2 separate regions of the Homo sapiens genome follow, and region 2 is linked to region 1. The links are contacts of gene promoters, found by promoter capture Hi-C in blood cells and fetal thymus (Javierre and others, 2016). All regions are on one chromosome and are shown on one strand. Each heading gives the region's core, a stretch centred on a gene start or on the middle of the fragment in contact. The rest is flanking DNA. Distances are from core to core; before and after follow the strand shown.

Evidence for each region. The method cuts DNA at HindIII sites, captures the fragments that hold promoters and counts their contacts. A CHiCAGO score of 5 or more calls a contact.
Region 2: a contact is called between the fragment with the promoter of EDRF1 here and the fragment with the promoter of LHPP in region 1, in 3 of 17 cell types (neutrophils, naive CD4 T cells and total CD8 T cells). The highest score is 7.9, in neutrophils.

The regions. Positions count from the first base shown.
Region 1 is chr10:124,459,269-124,463,602 of GRCh38, reverse strand. It overlaps LHPP (phospholysine phosphohistidine inorganic pyrophosphate phosphatase), which reads right to left and starts at 1,780. Exons shown (of 7, transcript NM_022126.4): 1 at 1,616-1,780. The coding sequence starts at 1,740. RefSeq lists a silencer at 1,441-1,900. The HindIII fragment of the contact is 2,939 bases long and covers 1-1,934 here.
Region 2 is chr10:125,717,868-125,722,201 of GRCh38, reverse strand. EDRF1 (erythroid differentiation regulatory factor 1) reads right to left here and starts at 2,493. Exons shown (of 25, transcript NM_001202438.2): 1 at 2,287-2,493; 2 at 790-998. The coding sequence starts at 2,394. EDRF1-DT (EDRF1 divergent transcript) reads left to right here and starts at 2,709. Exons shown (of 5, transcript NR_033847.1): 1 at 2,709-2,780. RefSeq lists enhancers at 1,610-2,592, 2,708-2,787, 3,268-3,377. The HindIII fragment of the contact is 5,171 bases long and covers 1-3,291 here.

The DNA of each region.
Region 1 (4,334 bases), core at 531-3,030:
TCAGTTGAGGTCAGGAGTTCGAGACCAGCCTAGCCAGTATGGTGAAACCCCATGTCTACCAAAAATACAAAAATTAGCTGGGCGTGGTGGCGGGTGCCTGTAATCCCAGATACTTGGGAGGCTGAGGCAGGAGAATCACTTGAACCTGGGAGGCAGAGGTTGCAGTGAGCCCAGATGGCGCCACTGCACTCCGGCCTGGGCAACAAGAGCAAAACTGTCTCAAAAAAAAAAAAGTGTCCTCATGGTCAAGTCTTGGCTGGCACGATGTTCTCTTCCTCCTCCTCTCACCTAAACCAATGCAGTCCAACAGAATTATAATGAGAGCCACAAAGGTAATTTAAAGTTTTCTAATAAGCACATTAACAAAAGTTAAAAAAAAAAGGTATACTTAATTTCAAATATTTTAACCTAAAACAGTATATTAAAAATATTATCAACTGGGCATGTGGCTCACGCCTATAATCCCAGCACTTTGGGAGGCCGAGGCAGGTGGATCACCTGAGGTCAGGAGTTAGAGACCAGCCTGCCCAACATGGTGAAACCCCGTCTCTACTAAAAATACAAAAAATTAGCCGGGTGTGGTGGCACATGCCTGTAATTCCAGCTATTCAGGAGGCTGAGGCAGGAGAATCGCTTGAACCTGGGAGGCGGCGGTTGCAGTCAGCAGAGATTGCACCACTGCATTCCAGCCTGGGCAACAAGAGCAAAACTCCGTCTCAAACAAAACAAATAAAAAAAGTAACTGGGCATGATGGCGGGTGCCTGTAATCCCAGCTACTCGGGAGCCTGAAGGGGGAGAATCACTTGCACCCGGGAGGCGGAGGTTGCAGTGAGCCGAGATCGTGCCATTGCACTCCAGCCTGGGCGACAGAGCAAGACTCCATCTGAAAAGAACAAAACAAAACAAACAAAAAGTATATCATTTCAACAGGCAAACAACATAACCCATTTTCATGTTTTTATTTTACATTTTACTCACGAAGTCTGGTGTTTTTGGGGGTTTTGTTTATGAGACCGTCTCGCTCTGCAGTCCAGGCTAGAGTACAGTGGGGTGATCACAGCTCACTGTAGCCTTGACCTCCTGGGCTCAAGCGATCCTCCTGCCTCAGCCTCCCAAGTGGCTGGGCCTACAGGCGTGCACCACCACACCCGGCTAATTTTTAAATTTTTGGCAGAGACGGGGTCTCCCTATGTTGCCCAGGGTGGTCTCCAACCCCCTAGCCTCAAGCGATCCTCCCTCCTCTGCCTCTGCAAGTGCTAGAATCACAGATGCGAGCCACCGCGCCCGGCTAAGTCTTGTTAATCGGTATGCATTTTACGCTTACAGCACATCTCAATTCAGACTGGCCGCAGGTCAAGCGCTCAGCAGCGCACGTACCAGGTGGCCGCCCTGTCTGACCGCGCAGCCCTAACCAGCAGAGTCCTGGTGCTCGCCGGGGGCAACAGTGGGGTCGTCCGTGGTCAGCACTGTGCGCGCACCGGGGTGGGAAGGGGGAGACCGAGGCGGGGCCTGCGCCGCGGCCCCGCCCCCTGCCGCCCCGCCCCCTGCCGGCAGCCAGGGAGCGGGCTGAGCTTAGAGCTCGGCGGCCCCAGCGGCGTCCCGGGGCCCACTCACCTGGCCACCGCCTCCACCGAGCCGGCGATGGCCGTGCCGCCGCCCGCGCCGCTGTCGTACAGCACGCCCGAGATGTCAAGCAGCACCCCGCGCACGCCAGCCAGCCGCTTGCCCCACGGTGCCATGGCGCCCGGCCCTGCTCCTCAGCTCCGCGTCCCAACCGACGCCGGCGCCGGCGCCGCGGCCGCGCAGGGGCGCCTGGGAACTGTAGTCCCGCGGGCGGGGCAGGGCAAGAAGACCGGGTGCAAACCCGGAACTGGGGCGCGGCCTGGGCACCCCGGCGTCACTCGCCCCTGAAACGGTGTCCTTTTCGGAAGCTTTCTTCCCAGGAGATCAGCGGACAAAGAGCAGGAAAAGCAGAAAACAAGTCCCTAAGAAAGGTCAAAGGCAAATTGAGACAAGAAGGCACCTGTAGCCAGGGGCGGTGGTTCACGCCTGCAATCCCAGCACTTTGGGAGGCAGAAGCGGGCGGACAGCTTGTGCCCAGGAGTTCTAGACCAACCTAGTCAACATAGTGAGACCCTGTCTCTATTAAAGAAAGAAAGAAAAAGTACAATACAAAATTGAGGCCGGGCGTAGTGGCTTATGCCTGTAATCCCAGCACTTTGGGAGGCTGAGGCGGGTGGATCGCTTGAGATCAGGAGTTCGAGACCAGCCTGGTCAACATGGTGAAACCCCTGTCTCTACTAAAAATACAAAAATCACCTAGGTGTGGTGGCGCATGCCTGTAGTCCCAGCTACTCGGTAGGCTGAGGCGGAAGAACCGCTTGAACCTGGGAGGCGGAGGTTGCAGTGAGCCGAGATTGCACCACTGCACTCCAGCCGGGGCGACAGAGCAAGACTTTGTCTTAAAAAAAAAAAAAATTATATGCAGATAACAGCCCTGCATAGATGAGGATGCATAGGACCTGGGCTGAGAAGAAAACGGGACTATCACAATGCGTTAAACCCAGGAGGTTTTTGGATAAGCTATAAAATACCACTCGATGCTACATTATTTTTGCAATAAATACACATTGATATTAAAAGGGAGGAGTTTCCTCAATGGCCCCTCGGAACCTTTCAAGTTATTAAATAGAAACGAGAACACTTTACTTCTGGTCCAACATAGCTTTGAGCTTTCAAAGAAGAGAGGATCATATTATTTCACCATTTCTTTTCAGGCTCTTGATTCACAGAAAGGATGAGGAATTCGTTGAAATGTTATGGGGTTCAATGAATTGTGTATATTTTGTTGACATGCTTACTAGGGGAGCTGTTTACAAGTGAAATAAAATACAGTTCCTACCCTTTGGGATTTCCACTAATGGGGTTGGGGAGTAGTATACCTTATATAAGGGTTCTTAGTCGCAGACAATAGACACCACTCCAGCTAGAGGGGTTTTGTTTACATGAGGTGAAGGAGCTTACAGATGACGGGTCTAAGTCCTACACAGCCAGGAGCCATGCAGCCACGAGAAACACTTAATTTTACTACTCCATTGGGACCACTGCCCCATCACTTAGTGCAGCCCCCAGCATAGCTGCCCCCAAAAGAACAAAACATATCCACCACTGTGCCCTCCACCTGTGGCCACCCACTCACTTTCACTGTGTCTGGCTTGGTGGAACCTAGCCCACGCTGCAAAGGAGTCTGGGAAATGCAGTTTTTAGTGTTCCAGGGGCTGAGTGAGTCAGTTTGGAGAATCTGCTAGGAACATCATGAACCGTACACGTATTGAGACCCTACTCTGTGCAGTGGGCACAAAAAAGTTCTAGGGTGTGATCCTTGCCTTCCAGGATCAAGACTGGGCAGAGAACAATGGAAGACCTTCACGACTGCTGACCAAATGTGTGCCAAGTGGCAATGAGTGACACAGACACAGTCAAGAGGATGACCTCTGCAGGCCTAGGAGGGCAGCTGTGGCTTCTGGGCAGGGGCAGCCTGAAATGGACCTTGGAGAATGGCTGGGCTTTAGCTTCATGCCAAGGAGGAGGAAAAGGGGTGCTTCTGCCAGTGGTGTGAGCCTACCCATAGTTGTTTCTTTTCAGTCAGCTCTGTGGGTACTCTTGGGCAAGTCCCTTTTCATTTCTACGACTACAGTAGACAGAATAGTGCCCCCTTGAGATGTCCACCTCCCAATCCCCACAACCTCTAAATATATTACCTGACATGGCAAAAGGGACTTAGATCTTGCAGAGCCTATGCTCCTGTAGGGAGATTATCCTGGATGGTCCAGGTGGGCCCAGTATAATGACATGAGTCCTCATAAGGGAAAGAGGGAAGCAGGAGAGAGTCAGAGTCAGAGAAGGAGGTGTGACAGCAGAAGCAGAGGTCAGAGAGAGAGGTGTGAAGATACCGTGCTACTGGCCTTGAATACAAAGGGGCCATGAGCCAAGAAATGCAGGTGGCCTCTGGAAGCTAAAAAAGGCAAAGAATTGGATTCTCCCCTAGAGCCTCCAGAAGGAATGCAGCCCTGCTGGTACTTCAAGTTTAGGACTTCTTACCTCCAGAACTATAATAATAAATCTGTTGTTTTAAGCCACTAAGTATATGGTAATTTCTTGCAGTAGTGACAAGAAACAAATACAGGGATCCAGGTCCCTCACCTGAAAAATGTGGCAAGTCTCTAAGTGTGGGCCACTGATAGGCTAAAACTTGATCTGAAAATTCCAGGCTTTTCTTGGGATGCAATGAGTGTAGGGCATTGTCTATGTTAGGGTTGCATTTGGCTACATG
Region 2 (4,334 bases), core at 1,244-3,743, 1.3 Mb before region 1:
ATTAAGCCATTCTTTTAAAAAATGATATTTGGGTTATTCCCAACTTTTTGCTCCTATAAATGATGCTACAAACAAACAGCATTTTTGCAAATATAACTTTTATTTTCTGAGGCTTTAGGATAATTTCCAAAATACCAGCTCATAAAGTATTAGTGTATTTGTGCCTCTTGCTACAAGTTACATGGAAATATTTTAGATTGAGTTGCTGAGAAGGGGGAAGAAGAAAAGAGAACCCTACACATTAAATGTCCTACAGTATGTACATTAATACATTTTTCTCTATAAGACCTCAGGCTACTCTCTCAACTTTGAACACCATCAGTTCTGGTGTCAAAGTCAAGGTGTAGGTCACCCAACATGCTGGGTTTTTAAATCTGGCTTTTCCAGATCAACCTGCCACCATTTAATGAAAAACTCCACAGGAAAGATGAAGGAATGTTCAAGGTTTTCCTCCTCATGCACCAAGCTGATCCTTTGTATTCACATATCCAAAAGGTATGCAAATTGGCTAAAATGAAAGGGCTGATTGAACTTTGGCAGTCAAAACTCATCTTTGCTGATAACATGACGTAGACTTAAAAGAAGCATATGCAATTGATATTGTATGTATATCTTCATGTTTTAACATCATCTATTATCAGAATAAAAAGCCTTTGAAAATCAAATGTGATCTTTCTCTAAAGAGAAATCTCGACAAGTTAATAGGCATTACAAACTGAATTTAAAAGCAAATAAGAGTTTTAAGTGAGGGTGGAGGGGCAGGTAAAAATGCCACTGATTAATATTTACCTTGAAAATGGCTTGCTTTTCTTGCTGTTGCCAAGAATGGTAGTTCCTGCTGGCCCTAGTTTGGCACTCTCTCGTAACCAGTTGGCAGGTGGGAGTTTCAAGTCTGTTTTCTCTTCAAGGCGTGCAAATGCTGTTCGAGGAGGGGCAGAAGAGTATTTCACCACAGCTCGGCTCTTCACTTCATTGCCTCCAAGAAATAAAGCTGATCCCTAATTAACACATTGGGTGAAACTTTAATGAAAATTACTAAGAACGAAAAATCTCACCTTTATAAAAAGAAAACAAGAACCTGTCACACCAGGCTTCACAAGGAACGTATGCCACATGTTACTAACAGCACTTAATAAATTTGAGCATAAATGGTAACATTTACTTAGTTCTTTTACACCAACTTCAAAGAAAAAAGATGAGTCAAGGAGTATGATGGTTATGGTTATCAGCTAGAAAATGGACCACCCACATCTCTTTTAAAATGTATTCATGTAAAGTGGAGAAGCAGAAACCAAGGAGACTCAATGGTATCATGTTAACTAGATGCAAACTTTAGTAAAGCCTATTTTCAGTATTAAAGATGTATTTTAATTCTTTTTTTTTTTTTTTTTGAGACGCAGTCTTGCTTTGTCGCCCAGGCTAGGGTGCAGTGGAGCAATCATGGCTCACTGCAACCTCGGCTTCTGGGGTTTACGCCATTCTCCTGCCTCAGCCTCCCTAGTAGCTGGAATTACAGGCGTGCACTACCACGTCCGGCTAATTTTTGTATTTTTAGTAGAGACAGGGTTTTGCCATGTTGGCCAGGCTGGTCTCGAACTCCCCGACCTCAGGTGATCCACCCACCTCGGCCTCCCAAAGTGCTAGGATTACAGGCGTGAGCCACCGCGCCCGGCCAAAGATGTATTTTAATTTTAATAACACATCATTCATAAAATAGTCTGGTAGAACATTTGGGCTTTTTGTTTTAATGCAAATATTTAGTAATCGATGCATCGGTTCATGCATGCATGCATGGTTCAAATACTCTTGAGTCTCTAACTTCATAGAAAGGCATTGGGGGTTCGTTCCTCACAGCCTGCACTTGCACACTCCCAAAGCAAGTTCGGCGTCTGGGTTCAATATTCTAACCTTTCACGCAGTACCTCTTCTGCATGGCAAACATTTTACACCCTTTGTGAATTAGTTCGGTCTCATTCTCGGCGAGTCACTACCTGGCACCGTTTCTTCCCTCCTGCTTTGCACGACTGTGCCACGTTTTGGAACGACATATTTACATGTACCCTCCTTGAGAGGAAAGATCGTATCTAATTCACCTGTCGGCTACCAGAACTGCTTTTAATACGAATACCTGCCGACTGGAGCATGGACTTCAACTCCCTGTTTTGGGGGTGTCAGGGAAACATGGAGAAGCCTCCAGAATCTGCCGGGAACCGTGGCATCCCTCCCCGGTGGAGCGGGTCCTCCGCTCCCACATCCCTGGCAGGTCCCCCTCCGCGGAGGACTCACCTGTGCAGAAGATTCCTCGGATTCTCCCTGGGACAGGAGGCTGAGCCCTCCTCGAGCGGCGGCCCCGGCCGGCGGACCCTCGGCTCCGGCCTCCTTGGCATCCCCCATCACTTCGATCCAGGGCAGGCGATACGACGGGGGAGCGGAGGAGCAGCAGCAGCAACGCAGGCCCAAAGCAGGGTAAGCGCCAGAGACGCTCCGCGGACCGCACTTCCGGTCTCTGCCAGGAAGAAGTAGCTGTGACTCGCCATTAAATCTCGCGATCTTTGTCCCGAAGGCCCGGCCCCGCCTCCCGCTGCGGGTGCCACCTTCGCGGCCAGGGCGGGAATTGTAGTGCGCCTGCGCTTGTCCGAACCTCTTCGGGAGACTACTTCTCGCGGTATCTGACTCCTAGGCTCCGCCCTCTGCACGCCGCTCACGGTATCTGACGCTCAGGCTCCGCCCCCTGCATGTCTTTGTTGGCAAACAGTTCTGGGGGTCGTCCGATCCTGCAGGTAGTGTCCGCGTGGGAGGGGAGGTGCAGCCGTCAGCGCTGCCGGCGGCTCCCGTTACGTGAATTAGTGAGAGGTTCAAACTTCTTCCCCAGGCTTCAGTGTCACATCTTTTCACACGGGCACCCCGAGGGCCCGGACTGGAAAGGCGAGCCAGCCATCTCGAGACTGGGCGCTCCTGCCCGCCTTTTAGTGCCCATGTGGCCCCATCCTGGGTGTGGGAGCGGCGGGGCTTCCGGGGAGGGCGCTGGGACGCGCGGACGAGGCCCTCCCCGTTTAGGGAATGGGTGGCTTTCGGAGTCTTCTGGGGGCCCGGCATGCCCGCTGCTTGCGGGGCGTCCCAGGTGGTGCAGGACCCGTGAGACGCTGAACCTGGGGCCTCGTAACGCCTAGGTTTCCATTCGGGCGCTCTGGATGGGTCCGAGACTCGGCATTTCTCACAGGTTCCCAGGAAACGATGCCAGCGCTTTGAGTAGCGAAGAGGTGGAGAAATAGCCCGGGCCGTTTGCAAGCTTTGAAGGTCCAGGCTCTCTTTCACACTCCTCAGTGTCATCTCAAACTGTCAAACGCAGCCACATCCGTTATACAATACATGTTTTGTAGTAAAAGTGTTTTGTTGTGCCGTAAGATACAGAAAGTGTTTTTAAAAATTAACTTGGCTCTTGCAATTTGGCTGTCTCAATTTGTAATTCACGTTTGGCTCTTACAACTCACTGTCCTGTCCGTTTTCAGGAATGCTCCTGATGAGTAAGCATTCAACTCACAAATTGCTTTCAAATGTAACAAAACAATTTTATGAATTAAATTTAACAGGCCGGGCGCGGTGGCTCACGCCTTTAATCCCTGCACTTTGGGAGGCCGAGGTGGGCAGATTGCCTGAGGTCAGGAGATCGAGACCAGCCTGACGAACAGGGTGAAACCCCATCTCTACTAAAAATACAAAAATTAGCCAGATGTGGTGGTGGGCGCCTGTAATCCCAGCTACTAGGGAGGCTGAGGCAGGAGAATCGCTTGAACCTGGGAGGCAGAGGTTGCAGTGAGCAGAGATGGCAACACTGCGCTCCAGCCTGGGCGATAGTGAGACTCTGTCTTAAAAAAATAATAATAGTGAATTAAATTTAACAGTTAATTTGATATAATAGTGTATTTTGTAGACATTTACTTCAACATGTATTGATTTTGATTTTTATCATTTCATTTGAATATTGCAGCCAATAATTCTTTTTTGGTTTTTGCAAGTTATGCATTGTTTTTTATGGTGAAAAGTTGAACATAATATCTAACACTAGGAGGAGGATAGTCAAATTTGGTTTTGGTAGAAAATAAACCCTGTGCAACCATAAACTTGTTTTTCAGGAATATTTAAGAACATTTAAATTGCATATCATATAATGTTAAGTGATAAGTGAAATTTTAAAAAGCCAATATGCAGCCTAGCGCGGTGGCTCACGCCTGTAATCCCAGCACTTTGGGAGGCAGATGCGGGTGGATCACGAGGTCAGGAGATCGAGACCATCCTGGCTAACACGGTGAAACCCCGTCTCTACTAAAAATACA